Regions from separate parts of the Homo sapiens genome. Here all the other regions are linked to region 1. The links are contacts of gene promoters, found by promoter capture Hi-C in blood cells and fetal thymus (Javierre and others, 2016). All regions are on one chromosome and are shown on one strand. Each heading gives the region's core, a stretch centred on a gene start or on the middle of the fragment in contact. The rest is flanking DNA. Distances are from core to core; before and after follow the strand shown. Region 1 holds the start of CNOT1 (CCR4-NOT transcription complex subunit 1). Region 2 holds the start of PSMD7 (proteasome 26S subunit, non-ATPase 7). Region 3 overlaps IST1 (IST1 factor associated with ESCRT-III).

Evidence for each region. Contacts are between HindIII fragments. The CHiCAGO score rates a contact against its expected background, and 5 or more counts as called.
Region 2: the fragment with the promoter of PSMD7 here is called in contact with the fragment with the promoter of CNOT1 in region 1 in 5 of 17 cell types (naive CD8 T cells, non-activated CD4 T cells, total CD4 T cells and 2 more); the score reaches 14.8 in naive CD8 T cells.
Region 3: a contact is called between a fragment that was not itself captured here and the fragment with the promoter of CNOT1 in region 1, in 1 of 17 cell types (activated CD4 T cells). The highest score is 5.4, in activated CD4 T cells.

What each region holds. Positions count from the first base shown.
Region 1 is chr16:58,627,977-58,632,728 of GRCh38, reverse strand. It overlaps CNOT1 (CCR4-NOT transcription complex subunit 1), which reads left to right and starts at 2,903. Exons shown (of 49, transcript NM_016284.5): 1 at 2,903-3,001. RefSeq lists enhancers at 2,036-2,525, 2,816-3,025, 2,474-3,149, 3,150-3,826. The HindIII fragment of the contact is 12,291 bases long and covers 1-3,905 here.
Region 2 is chr16:74,293,312-74,298,063 of GRCh38, reverse strand. It overlaps PSMD7 (proteasome 26S subunit, non-ATPase 7), which reads right to left and starts at 1,250. Exons shown (of 7, transcript NM_002811.5): 1 at 1,076-1,250. The coding sequence starts at 1,149. RefSeq lists enhancers at 236-1,125, 1,026-1,335, 1,126-2,017. The HindIII fragment of the contact is 3,645 bases long and covers 1-1,917 here.
Region 3 is chr16:71,900,518-71,905,269 of GRCh38, reverse strand. All of the region lies in intron 1 of IST1 (IST1 factor associated with ESCRT-III), which reads right to left. Among named protein-coding and RNA genes, the nearest start is that of IST1, 7.4 kb to the right of the region's middle. The HindIII fragment of the contact is 442 bases long and covers 1,858-2,299 here.

The sequences.
Region 1 (4,752 bases), core at 1,654-4,153:
ACATTTGCAATGTTCATCTGTGGAGTAAATTCTTAGACATGGAATTACTGGGTCAGTGGGGTCGGCATTTTCACTTTTGATAAACTCGGCCAAAATGCTGCTCTACATAGGGGTTTTGGTAACTTTTACTAGCAACCGTGCAGGGAAGGGCCTTATTCCTCATCCTTGTTCTGTTTAGGGGGCCTTTTACTTCTAAGATTACAATGTTGTAAGTCGATTTCTCCCTTTAGTACCCTGCAAGGCCTATTTGCACATATGCCTACCATGTGCCAGACACAATACTAGGTGCTGAGAATACAGCTGTGAACAAGACGGAAGTGATCCTTCTTCTTACTATATGTGGGGTCCCTGGCTCTTGCACAGTTCTGCTCTTGCACAGTTGCTTGAAAGCACAAGGGACTCAGTAAATGTAGGCTGAAAGACCTGGCCTCCAACTAAGGAAAGGGAGGTGTCGAAAAGTATTTTTAGGCTGGGCTTGGTGGCTCATGCCTGTAATCCCAGCACTTTGGGAGGCTGAGGCGGGTGGATTACCTGAGGTCAGGAGTTCAATACCAGCCTGACCAACATGGTGAAACCCTGTGTCTACTAAAAATACAAAAATTAGCTGGGTGTGGTGGCACGTGCCTGCAATCTCAGGTACCTGGGAGGCTGAGGCAGGAGTCTTGCTTGAACTGGGGAGGCCGGAGGTTGCAGTGAGCTGAGATTGCACCATTGCACTCCAGCCTGGGCAACAAGAGCAAAACTCCGTCTCAAAAAAAAAAAAAAAAAAAAAAAAAAAAAAAAAAAAAAAGATGTGTTTTTAGGACATATGCTCAGTTAACTAGGCCAGTCACAAAAAGACAAATACTGCATGATTCCACTTATATGAGGTATCTAAAGTAATCAAACTCAGGAACATAAAGAAGAATAGTGATTGTCAGGGACTAGGGGGAGGGGGAAATGGAAGGTGTTAAACAACAGATGTAGTTTCAGTTTTGCAAGATGAAAAAGTTCTAGAGATCTGTTGTACAACAATATGCATATAGTTAACACTACTGTATTCTACACTTAAAAATGATTAAGATGGTAAATTTCATGTGTTTCTTACCATAATTTTTTTTAAGTATTTTTTTGGGCACGAGAGGTAATATGAGAGAGATGGCCAGAAGACCACCTACTGAGCCTAGTCTGAGGACAGGGGTGAGCACAGGGATAGGTTTGAATTTCTTTTTCTTTTCTTTTTTTTTTTTGGAGACGGAGTCTCGCTCAGTCGCCCAGGCTGGAGTCAAGCGGCGCGATCTCGGCTCACTGCGACCTCTGCCTCCCGGGTTCACGCCATTCTCCTGCCTCAGCCTCCCGAGTAGCTGGGACTACAGGCGCCCGCCACTACGCCCGGTTAATTTTTCTGTATTTTTAGTAGAGACGGGGTTTCACCGTGTTAGCCGGAATGGTCTCCATCTCCTGACCTCGTGATCCGCCCGCCTCGGCCTCCCAAAGTGCTGGGATTGCAGGCGTGATCCGCAGCGCCCTGCCTTTTTTTTTTTTTTTTTTTTTTTGAGACAGAGTTTTGCTCTGTCGCTCAGGCTGGAGTGCAGTGGCGCGATCTCTGCTCACTGCAACCCACGCCTCCCGGGTTCAAGCGATTCTCCTGCCTCAGCCTCCTAAGTAGCTGGGATTACAGGTGTGCGCCACCACGCCCGGCTAATTTTTTGTATCTTAGTAGAGATGGGGTTTCACCGTGTTAGCCAGGATGGTCTCGATCACCTGACGTCGTGATCCACCCGCCTCAGCCTCCCAAAGAGCTGGTATTACAAGCGTGAGCCACCGCGCCCGGCCTTAATTTCAAAAGGTAATAGAGCTAACCAGTCAACACTTCCTTCCCAATCCTTTCTCTTTTGGGTACAGGTGAGTATAAAATCTTACCAACTATCATAGTTAACAAACAAACCATAGCAAAATATGTTTCTATGCTTTTTCTCTTGAGAGCAAAGGACATGGGTATCCTTTCTTAGACGGCTTCTAGGACTTAAGCCAGGAAGAGAACTTGCGTCTCCTACGTCTCTGGAAGGCGTCTCTGGAAGGTGTCCCTTCTTCAATAGACAGAACTAAAACAGAAAGTTCCCTTGACCAAAGCGAAGCAAGCGAGGACAAGGTGGCCACCTGGGTGACTACAACCCCCAGCATGCACTGCTCCTTCTAGGGCGCAGCGACGAACGAAGACGCATTACTTCTGCGATGGGAACGGGGTAGAGGAGCGCGACTACACATCCCAGGATGCAAAGCGCCCCAACTCTAGTCACAACCTGGCTTGCTTTCTGGCTGGCGTTCCCCGCCAAAGGGACACTAGGGGAGGGGATTGTTTCGGTTGGGAATCCCCGAAGTCTACTGGACCGTGACATTTCGAAAGAGGAAGGAAAGTGGAGGAAAGCTGTTTCACTGTAATTCAAAGTAGTTCCCGCGCAGGGTGGCGAGGAGTTATGGGCCCCTTCCATAATTTATTGTTCCTCAAAGGCAATGCCAAGCCCCACTGGTCGCAGCCCTCCAGGGCAGGTGGGAAGTACGTGAAGCCCCAAATCGAAGTTATCAGCCTCTCCCTATTGGCCCTCGCCTCGAGCGCAGGCGCGAGGGCTCTGACTCCGGTCCCCTGGGCCTGGTGAGCGGCAATTGGCCAAAGTCCGCGAAGTAGGAGGCCGGATTGGTAGTTGCTAGCAGGAGCCTGATTTCTTCCTCGACTTCTGCAAGTGATAGAGTGTGATTGGTTTAAATCCGCGGGCACCTGTCGGTGATTGGGTAGAAGCCACAGGCGGGGCGCGGCCATTGGCTGGCTCTGGGGCCATCCCTCCTCGGGCGGGCAGCGAATGATGAAATGGGAACGGGGAGGGGAAAGGCCGCGACGTGAGCGCGCGACCTCCGGCGCCATTTTGTAGAGAAACAAGCGGAGTTAACCGAAGAGGGGGTCGAGGAGAGCCGGAGTCGGGGACCCAGGAGTTTCCTGTGTCCAGCGCTGCCGGAGCCGCCTGAGGTGAGGCGGGTTGGCGTCAGGGGCTAGGGTAGGGTGGCGGTGTCAGCTTGGGAACGCGAGAGCCGGTGGGAGGAGGAACAGGGGTGGACCTGGGGCCACTGGAAGCGTTTCCCGGAGCTCTAGGGAGTGAGAGGCAGCCGGGACGGGGAAGTGGGACGAGGCGGGAGAGGGCGGACTCTTCTCCACACGGCTCTCGGAGGCTTCGCGCTCTGAAGATGAGAGGCCAGCGAGAAGGCTCCAGGAAGCGGAGGGTAGAGCGCGGGGTGAGACCCATGGTGGTCTCTGTCCCGGGCCTGGAGGCTCAGGGGGCGGCAGCGGCGGCAGTTCGTGTCGCTGGGCCTGGCTTCGCGCGGGTTGCACCCCTCTGAGACCTCCACGACCTCCTTAACTACTGTTTCTGTCTCTGCTCCCTGATGGTTGCAGTGGGCATCGGCTTCCGAGGCCTAGGGCTTCTGGCGGGGGGGACCGTGTTTGGAGTTTTTGCATGTTTCCAGTTCTTCTCCGTGTACTCGGAGCTGCCACTCTCCCCGTCTTACGCCCCCAGCACGTTGTCAAAGCCCCCCAGGTTTCGGGTGTCCCCGGATGGGAAGGGCGGGCGGGAGCAAGCACTTCCTTATTACTTGCTACAGGTTTTGTTCCACTCGCGCGCCTGGGCGCTCACACTTTCTTTGAAGTTGGCCCCCACCTACTCGGTCCGGTGTCTGCAGTAGTGGCGGTCCTGCTCACCCAGGACAAGTGTCCCGCTAGTGAGCTGAGCACTTGTAGGCCTCAAGGCTGATAAGATCCACGGCAGGTCTTGTAGAGGTACTTAAGGCCAAACACAAATAATACTTTTTCAGTACCACCTCCTTTGCAGAATTCACCCAAGAGGGCTCACAGATACTAACTCCCCGAGGAGTAAGCTTTGTAGATTAAAAAAGAATGCTTGACATCTGTGCGTTTGAAAATGTTGTATTTAAAATAAACTTTATGACAAACTTTTCCCATGAAGTTAATCAAATGTCACATTTCTTAGGACTCTAATAAAGTCTGTTTTCTTCCTGAAAACTGAGTAACAATGCTTAACCTACCCTGCCGATTTCTCTACAATTCGATAGCCTGTGACTACTTGGGTTTTTTTTTTTTTTTAAGTCAGTGATTGAGTGAATATAATTATACTGTTTGAAACAATGCCGAACGTTTTCCTTATGACAGCCCCTTTGATAGGAATAGGGAATACATGGATTAAAAAAATGAGGGAAGGCAAGTAAAATATTAGGAGGAAGGTCAAACAGATTAAGAACAATTTTTTTCTATAGGTACTTGGGTTTAATACTTAAGTGATCTGTGGTCCCGGTTGGTATTCCTACCCTTTTAAAGATTGGCAGCAGAGTATTTTAGCTATTAAGAAGACATGTGGTAACAGTTTAAATAATTATGTTTTAGGATACTGCAAATTGTTACCTTGTCTAAGGAGAATATGCATTGATGATACATGGTTTTAGGTGGCTAGCTGTGCTTTGACTGAAATGATAGCATGTTGATAAAACTAGTTTGGAGAGTTAGTTCCTTTTCAACAAGTGTGGGTTCCCCAAGTCTTAGTGGAAACAAGTCTAGAATCGACTGGGCGCGGTGGCTCACGCCTGTAATCCCAGCACTTAGGGAGGCCAAGGTAGGTGAATCACCAGAGGTCAGGAGTTCGAGACCAGCCTGGCCAACATGTCACAACCGCGTCTCTACTAAAAATACAAAAATTAGCCGGGCGTGGTGGC
Region 2 (4,752 bases), core at 1-2,500, about 16 Mb before region 1:
GTCTCAGCCTCCCAAAATGCTGGGATTACAGGCGTGAGCCACCATGCTCGGCCTCGTGTTTTAAATAAAAACTGAAACCTCATCTATATATACATTTTTTTTTTTGAGACGGAGTCTAATCAGATTCCCATTTAAAAATGTTAATGGGTTAAAACCACAGCTGATCCAGGAAGCCCTTCGGGGTGCTGAGCATCATCCAGATTTCGATAACAGGAACTCGGTCAAATGAAGACAAACATAGATACGACCCTGGGGGCGGGGGTCAGGGCCAAATTGAAGCTAGCCCCCTTAGCCCCACTCCGGCATCATCCAGGCATCATTCACTTTGCATCATTCACATTTCGGTGAAATCAACTTGGTTAAACGAGGATAAACATAAATACGACCCTGGGGCCGGGGTCAGGGCCAAATGAAGGTAGCCACCCTGCACCCCACTCCAGCATCATCCATATTTCGGTGAAACCAATTCGGTCAAACGAAGATAAACATAGCCTTGGGGCGGGGCTAAATGGAGCTAGCCCACTCCGCCCCACCCAAGCATCATCCAGACATCAGTCACTTTGCATTATTCACATTTCAGTGAAATCAACTGAGTCAAATGAAGATACGACCCTGGGGTCGGGGGTCAGAGCCAAATGAAGCTAGCCCGCCTCCGCCCCACCCTGGCTTTATCCAGATTTCGGCAAAACGAACTTCAAAACGAAGTGACAGACACGAGCTTGGGGGCGGGGGTCAGGGCCAACTAAAGCTAGCCGCATCTCCCGACCCCCAGCATCATCCAGATTTCGGTAAAACGAACTTCGGCAAAACGAACTCGGAAAGGGAACTCTGTAAAACAAACAGGCTAAACGGAACAGGCAGCCAAGGCCCCGAAGTGGCGGCGGCTGGGGCAGGGGCGGGAGGCTGGATGACTCCGGCATCGTGAGCCGACGCTGGTCTGGACTCGTGAACAAGTAAGGGTCACCAGCCGCCCTATCTGCGTCCCCAGCTCGTCCGCGGCCGCCGCGCCATCTCCAGCGTGCCCGTGACTCAGCAGCGGCTGCGCCGCCGGCCCAGCTATAGGGCGCTCGCTCACCGGTTGAAATGATCCACCACACTGAGCAGCACCAGGGGGTGGACCACCACCTTCTGCACTGCCAGCTCCGGCATCGCGACACACCCCGCTCGCCAGGCCTGGCTCCCTGCCACACGCAAACACCGGCAGCAGTAGCGGTCACCGGTACCCTTTCAGGCCCAGTTCCTCTTCTTCCGGTTCGTCAGCCCTCGCGCGGCCTCCTTCTTCCGCTCCCAGAGTGCCTCGCGCGGCGGGCCCGGATCTTCGCCACCGCCGTCATTTGTGGGCGGAGAAAGGGCTGGAGAAAGGCGGGAATCGCCCCTCGTCCCTCGCCGTGCGTTTCCCTGGACTTAAGGGCCGAAGGGACACCGGCGACTTGACCTCCTGGTATTGGCCTGTACCGTCACCTGCAGAGGCTTTTCGCCTCAATTCCTTCCCAGCACCCTCCCCCCGCCACCCCCCCAAAGTAAATAGTTGACAGTTTACTTTTCTACCACCCGGAAGAAGTTCACTTTTGCTTCAGGTCAAAATCCTCCGCGATTTCTGAGAGGAACTTTAAATCTCTAACATAAGAGCACGCTTTTAATGTAATTTGGTAATTTATCTCATTCTCGTTTTCATTGCCGGGGGAATTTCTCCTTTATCTTTACTGTGGACACTTTGCAATGAACGTGGCAACCTGCAGGTTTCCACCTGTCGTTATATTACTGCGTAACTAGGGCTAGAAGAACGCAATTGTGCCGTTGCTTTTGAAATCAAAATTTACAGAAGCGTTGAAGAAAAGACGGAAGGAAGGCAGTAAGGAAGTATGTTGTGATATGTAGCTAGGAAAGAGAAGACTAAGGTAGACAAAGACTTAAGCTTATTTGCAGGAGGCAAATTATAAGAAAAATCATACAGGTTTATATCGTCTCATTTGAAGTTGCTGTTTCTGTAAACGAAAACAGTACTTAAGCAACCTGAATTATTTACTTATATTTTGTTCTGTTTTTAAACAATTTTTGCTTTCCCTTTATCACCAGAGGATTTTCCCAACATTTTGGCCTCTTGTCTTTTTAAGGTGGACTTCCTGATCTCCAAATGTCAAGGGACACACTCAGTCTCTCTTATTTGTGGGTGGTGAAAAACATTAGCAAAGATTAGACTGAAATTTGGCCACCAATGAGAGACATTAATGTAGTCAGGAGTTTGAATTTGTCTGCATGTGAATTTATCTTTGTCTTCTGTCTGCAACTTGGCTTTATTTTCAGATTTTCTGCTAGATCTGCAAGGAAGTAAATGGCAGGATATGCTTAATATTCATAATTAATTGAAGAGACTCAATGCTATCTTTATTTTTTCATTTTTTTTTTTGGTACAGTTGGTGTCTCACTATGTTGTCCAAGCTGGTCTTAAACCCCCAGCCTCAAGCAATCCTCCCACCTCAGCCTCCCAAACTGCTGGGATTACAGGTGTGAGCTACTGTGCCTGGCCATTCATTCTTAATTATAACTAGAAAGATATAAGGGTTATGTTAATGGGGAAAGAAAACTAAGAATTATTGAATCTATTGAGTGCCTATAATATGCCAGCCCTGGTTCAGACGCAAATATTTAATCCTTTTAATTAATGCTTCTCAAACTTTGATATGCTTACAAATCACCAGGGGACCTTGTTAAAATTCAGATTCTGATTCTGTAGGTCTGAGATGGGACCTGAAATTCTGAGCTTCTAACAAGCTTTCAGGTGAGGCCCATGCTGTGTTAACAAGGCTTGTAACAACCTTACGAAGTCGGTATTTTCTCATTACAAATGAAAATTGTTGCTCAAATGTTGCTCTCGAGGTGGGCTTTTTCTCACGCTTTGAAAAAATTTTGTCTTTCTCCCCCTAATGTGTTTCTGCTTTAGTTTTCTCCATAGTTTTTACCACTTGTGAATAGTTTGTAGAATTTACTTATTCTGTTCATTCTTTGTCTCTCATTAGAATGTAAGCTCTTGTTTAGTTTGTAAACTCCTGTTTACTTTTTTTTTTTTTTTTAAATAAATGAGAGACAGTCTCGCTCTGTCACCCAGTCCGGAATGCAGTGGCACAATCTTGGCTCACTGCAACCTTCACCTCCCAGGTTCAAGCGATTCTCATACCTCAGCCTCCCAAGTAGCTGGGACTACAGGTGAGCGCCACCATGCCCCACTAATTTTTCTATTTTTAGTAGAGATGGAGTTTCACTGTGTTGGCCAGGCTTATCTGGAACTCCTGAACTCAAGTGATCTGCCTGCCTTGGCTTCCCAAAGTGCTGGGATTATAGGTGTGAGCCACTGCACCTGGCCCCTAGTTTACTTTTATATTATCATTGTCTTGAAAAGTGCCTGGCACATAGGAGACATTCAGTAATTACTATATAAATGAATAATTAGTTATGATAGTGAAATGGAAGATGACAATAAGGCTCAGACATTGGGAAGGATCTTTCCAAGATCACATTGCTGGTCAGGATCAAGCCAGGTTTCTGTGACCCCAGTTCCTAATTGGTTGGTGTGCCTGCTTGCAGCAGTCTTAGGCAAAAGAATTGCATTAATTTTATTAAGATACTAAATTTCAAACTTTAGAAAGTGATATATTTTATTTCACACTGAGTTCACTTTGCAGTTGTACTAAGCCTAAGCAAGCTGTTTCGAAGCTTATTGGGTGTCTCCAATCCTGACTCACTGAAGCAGTGTGAAACTGACTATGAGCTTAAAAAATTATTCTAGTTACACATGATCATTGTGGAAAAATGACACTATTCAGATAAATAAAAATGAATATAGAGCTGGGCATGGTGGCCTGTGCCTGTAATCCCAGATACTTGGAAGGCTGAGGTTGGAGGATCACTTGAGCCCAGGAGTTCATGACCCTTCCGAACAGTAGGACCTTGTCACAAATAATTAATTAATTGAAATAAATTAAAATCACCTGAAATCGTACCACATACAGAAAACTAAGATTAACCCTGGCCCAAAGTGCTTTTTTTTTGAGACGGAGTCCTACTCTGTCACCGGGCTGGAGTGCAGTGGCACAATCTCGGCTCCCTGTAACCTCCGTCTCCCAGGTTCAAGTGATTCTCCTGCCTCAGCCTCCCAAGCAGCTGGGACTATAGGCGCATGCCACCATGCCCAGCTAATTTGTTTGTATTTTTAGTAGAGACAGGGTTTCACCATGTTGGCCAGGAAGGATGGTCTCGATTTTGTGATCTGCCTGCCTCAGCCTCCCAAAGTGCTAGGATTATAGGCGTGAACCACCGCGCCTGGCCTAAAGTGCTGTATTTCTTAAGGGATTTCAGCATTAGCTTCCTAATTTCTCTTTTTGCCTTCCAGTTTTGACCTTCTCCCATCTCCATCCTCCACTCTGCAGCCAGACTTATTTTATTGATTGATTGATTGATTGAGACTGAGTTTCACTCTTGTTGCCCAGATCTCAGCTTGCTGCAACCAACACCTCCTGGGTTCAAGCGATTCTCCCACCTCAGCCTCCCTAGTAGCTGGGATTAGAGGTGCCCGCCACCACGCCTGGCTAATTTTTGTATTTTTAGTAGAGACGGGGTTTCATCCTGTTGGCCAGGCTGGTGCTGGGATTACAGGCATGAGCCACTGTGCCCAGCCTTATTTTAACATTTTTAATTTGTTATTTTTTTAAAAGAGTTAGGGTCTCACTCTGTCACCAAGGTTGGAGTGCAGTGGTG
Region 3 (4,752 bases), core at 829-3,328, about 13 Mb before region 1:
GAGGTCAGGAGTTCGAGACCAGCCTGGCCAACATAGTAAAACCCCATCTCTACTAAAAATACAAAAATTAGCCCGGTGTGATGGCACGCACCTGCAGTCCCAGCTACTTGGGAGGCTGAGGCGGGAGAATTGCTTGAACACGGGAGGCAGAGGCTGCAGTGAGCTGAGACCACGCCACTACACTCCAGCCTGGGTGACACAGTGAGACTCCATCTCAAAAAACAAAAAAACAAAAATACTACACAAAAAAAGCAAAAAAAAAATTTTTTAATGGAATTTAAAAATATGTTCAAATAGCTCAAAAAGCAGGAAACAGAAACAAAAATGAGAGAACAGAAAACAAATAATAAAATGTAGACCTAAACTCAAACATTCAAAAATTACATAATTAAATGAAAATGGTATAAACACAATTAAAAGACAGATATTGTGAGAATGAACCAAAAAATGATCCACTATATACTGTCAACAACAAACTCACTTCAAATATAATAATGTAGGTAGTTTAAAAGTAAAGTATGGGAAAGGTATATATGCAAACACTAATCAAAAGAAAGTTGGAGGCCAGGTATGGTGGCTCATGCCGTAAGCCCAGCACTTTGGGAGGCTGATGTGGGAGGATCGCTGGAGCTCAGGAGTTCAAGACCAGACTAAGAGCAAGATCCCATCTCTACAATTAAAAATAAAAATTAGCTGGACACGGTAGCATGTGCCTGTAGTCCCAGCTACTCGGGGGGACTGAAGTGGGAGAACTGCTTAAGCCCAGGAGGTCAAGGCTGCAGACAGCCATGTTTGTGCAAGTGCACTCCAGACTGGGCAACAGAGCAAGATCCTGTCTCAAAACAACAGGCCGGGCGCAATGGCTCACGCCTGTAATCCCAAAACTTTGGCAGGCCGAGGCAGGTGGATCACTTAGGTCAGGAGTTCGAGATCAGCCTGGTCAACATGACGAAACCCCATCTCTACTAAAAATAAAAAATTAGCCAGGCGTGGTGGCATAAGCCTGTAATCCCAGCTACTTGGGAGGCTGAGGCAGGAAAATTGCTTGAACCTGGCAGGCAGAGATTGCAGCGAGCGGAGATCACACCACTGCACTCAGCCTGGGCAACAACAGCGAAACTCCGTCTCAAAACAACCACCACCACCACCAAACAAATAGAACGTTGGAGGGGTTACATTAAAATCAGACAAAGTAGACTTCAGAGAAAGGAAAACCAGGGATACAGAAGGACATTACATAAGCATAAAAGGGTGAAGTCACCAGGAAGATACAACAATCCTAACTGTGAATGCACCCAACAACAGAGCTTCAAAAACAAAAAGCAAAAACTAACAGAGAGGAAAGGAGAAATAAATCTAATTATAGTTAGAGGCTTCAACATACCTCCCACCATAACTGATCAACCTAGCAGACAGAACACAAACAAGGACAGTGAACTGAACACCACCACCAACTGACGGCATCTCACTGACACTTACAGAACATTACACCCAACACAGCAGTGTACTAGAACATTCATGAATGTAGGACATAGCTGGGGTTCTAAAATCAAACTTAACAAATTAAATAGGACCAGGCATGGTAGCTCTCACCTATAACCTCAGCTACTTGAGAGGCTGAGGTAGAAGGATCGTTTGAGGCCAAGGGACCAGCCTGAGTAACACAGTAAGACCTCGTCTCTATTAAATTTTTAAAGAAGAGGAAAACAAAACCCAAATTAAATAGAATTGAAGTCATACCAAGAATGTTCTTTAACTGTAATGGAATTAAACTAGAAATCAACAGAAAATCTCTTAACATTTGGGAATTCAACAATATACTTCTAGATGAACTGCTTGGAGGTCAAAGAGAAAGCTTCAAGTGAAAAAAATTTTTTAAAGGTTTGTACTGAAAAAAAAAATATATATATGTAACGAATTTGTGGGATGTAGCTAAGGCAGTGCTTAGAGAAAAAATTATATCATTAAGGTTTTAATTAGAAAAGAAGAGGCCAGGCTCAGTGGTTCACACCTGTAATTCCAGCACTTTGGGAGGCCAAGGGGAGAGGATCACTTGAGGCCAGGAGTTTGAGACCAGCTTGGACAATGTAGCAAGACCCCATTCTCTACAAAAAAATTAAAACATTAGCAGGGCATGGTGGCACACACCTGGAGTCCCAGCTACTTGCAAGGCTGAGGCAGTGAGCACGAGAGTTTGAGGAGGCAGTGAGCTATGATCATGCCCACTGCACTCTAGGCTGGACAACAGAGCAAGACTCTGTCTCTCCAGAAAAAAGGTCTCAAATTACTAATCTAAGCTTCCACATTAAGGAACCAGAAAAAGAGCAAAATCAAACCAAAGTAAGCAAAAACAACAAAAAGAAAGCAAAAATCAATGAAATAGAAGAAAAAATAGAAAAAAAATCAAGGAAACTAAATGCTGATTCTTCAAAACGATTTTTTAAAAACTGACATACCTATATAACAAACTCACAAAGAAAAGGAACATATAAACATATAAATTATCAGTATCAGCGATGAAAGGGTGAATATCACTACAGATTCTAAAGACTTTTAAAGGCGATATTATAACCAACATATATCTATAAATTCAACAATTAAATGAAATAAACAAATCCCTCAGAAACTCAAATTTACTAAATTTGACACAAAGAAATAGAAAATATAGCTGCACTAGATCTATTACAAAAATTGAATCTAGGCTGGGCGCGGTGGCTTACGCCTATAATCCCAGCACTTTGGGAAGCCGAGGCGGGCAGATTACTTGTGGTCAAGAGTTCGAAACCAGGTTGGCCAACATGGTGAAACCCCATCTCTACTAAAAATACAAAAATTAGCCAGGCGTGGTGGCAGGCATCTGTAATCCCAGCTACTCGGGAGGCTGAGGCAGAAGAATTGCTTGAACCCAGGAGGTGGAGGTTGCAGTGAGCCGAGATCACACCACTGCATTCCAGCCTGGATGACAGAGCCAGACTTTGTCTCAAAAAAAAAACAATTAAATCTAAAATTAAGAACCATTCCCAAAGAAAATCCAGGCCCAGGTGGCTTCTCTGGCAAATTCTATCAAACATCTGAGGAAAATCAGTACTAATATTACATGAACCTTCACACCTCTTGGGCTGGTATGAGAATTAAGTGAAAATTTGTAAAGAAATTAGCACATTGTGTTATATGTACACAGTAAGCACCATGTAAACATTTGTTAAATAAATTCCAGTCAATGGACCCATATTTTAAAAAGTCTTAGCTCTTCATCTAAAGATTAGCTAGCCTCTTTTGTGTGTTTTATGTTAAAATAAGATGTTTAAGGCATGCTTTATATCTTTTTCCCTCGGTTTAACAATTCTGATTAATCTGTTTCAATCTCACTGCAAGACAACTGTTTCTTACATACTGCCTAGAACGGTATGTCACCCACACACTGCCTAGCACAGTGTTTTGTACAAAGCTGTCGCTCATGTATTATGTTAATTAGTAGAAAATTTAATTAAAAACCACATGCTTTTAAAAAAATTCTACAAATTTACATAATCTAGTTTTGTTTTAGAATTAAGGAAAGAAAAGCAATTTGCTAAACTATTTTGTTAAGTACTGAGGATTTTTCAACTCCTATTCAACAGATCCCCATTTTACGAAGAAACTAATCATTAAAGACAATGACAGTAAACCACAAAAGTAGTAACTAAAGGATATATCCTAAATGATTACCAGTACATTAAATAAATCAGACTAAAAACGAATTTAAAGCAAAAGACTACGCAGGGCGCGGTGGCTCACACCTGTAATCCCAGCACTTTGGGAGGCCGAGGTGGGTGGATCACGAGGTCAGGAGATCGAGACCATTCTGGCTAACGCAGTGAAACCCCATCTCTACTAAAAACACAAAAAATTAGCTGGGTGTGGTGATGGGTGCCTGTAGTCCCAGCTATTTGGGAGGGTGAGGCAGGAGAATGGCGTGAACCCGGGAGGTGGAGCTTGCAGTGAGCCGAGATCGTGCTACTGCACTCCAGCCTGGGCGACAGAGCAAGATTCCGTCTCAAAAAAAAAGAAAAAAAACCAAAAGACTGACTTAATTACTATCTCAGAATTTGAACCTGTTTCCAAAGCTAAACATAACATAAACTTTGTTATCCTGTATGATTAGGAACATTAATTTTGGAAATAATAACCTAAAAGTTAATAAAATATTCTAGTCAACATTTACTATTCATATATACATTAACAAACATAAACAAATTTTTATACATATGTGATTATATACACATCACATACTAACATTGTCCAGTAAGTAATCTAAAATTCTTTTTGTGATTCAGACGTTACTCTAAAATCACTGTGCTTCAACATCTTTACTGTCATTCACTCACTCACCAAATATTTATTGAGTGCTATTCTATTAAGCACTGTGCTAAGCCACTGTCTACAACAGACATTCAAATGAGAGCTTCCCTAGCCTTCAAGGGGCTCACAATCAAATGGGTATAGCTGACATAAAAACAACTATAAGACAAGTAAGCAATTATAACATAAACTCTAAAAAATGGTTATGAACTAGTGACCACAATCCTAGTTCTCGGTATTCTGTTTATATACATATATACTTATCTTTATTAGTGTAACACCATTATTTTTATTAGTGTCACACATGGATCAGCAGCCCAATCCTTCACTTTACTCCAATTCTTAACACTGGCATAGCAAACCCATCTAGTTCCTCTTTTATCACTCAGCTCGCTGAGACTTCGCGAGCTA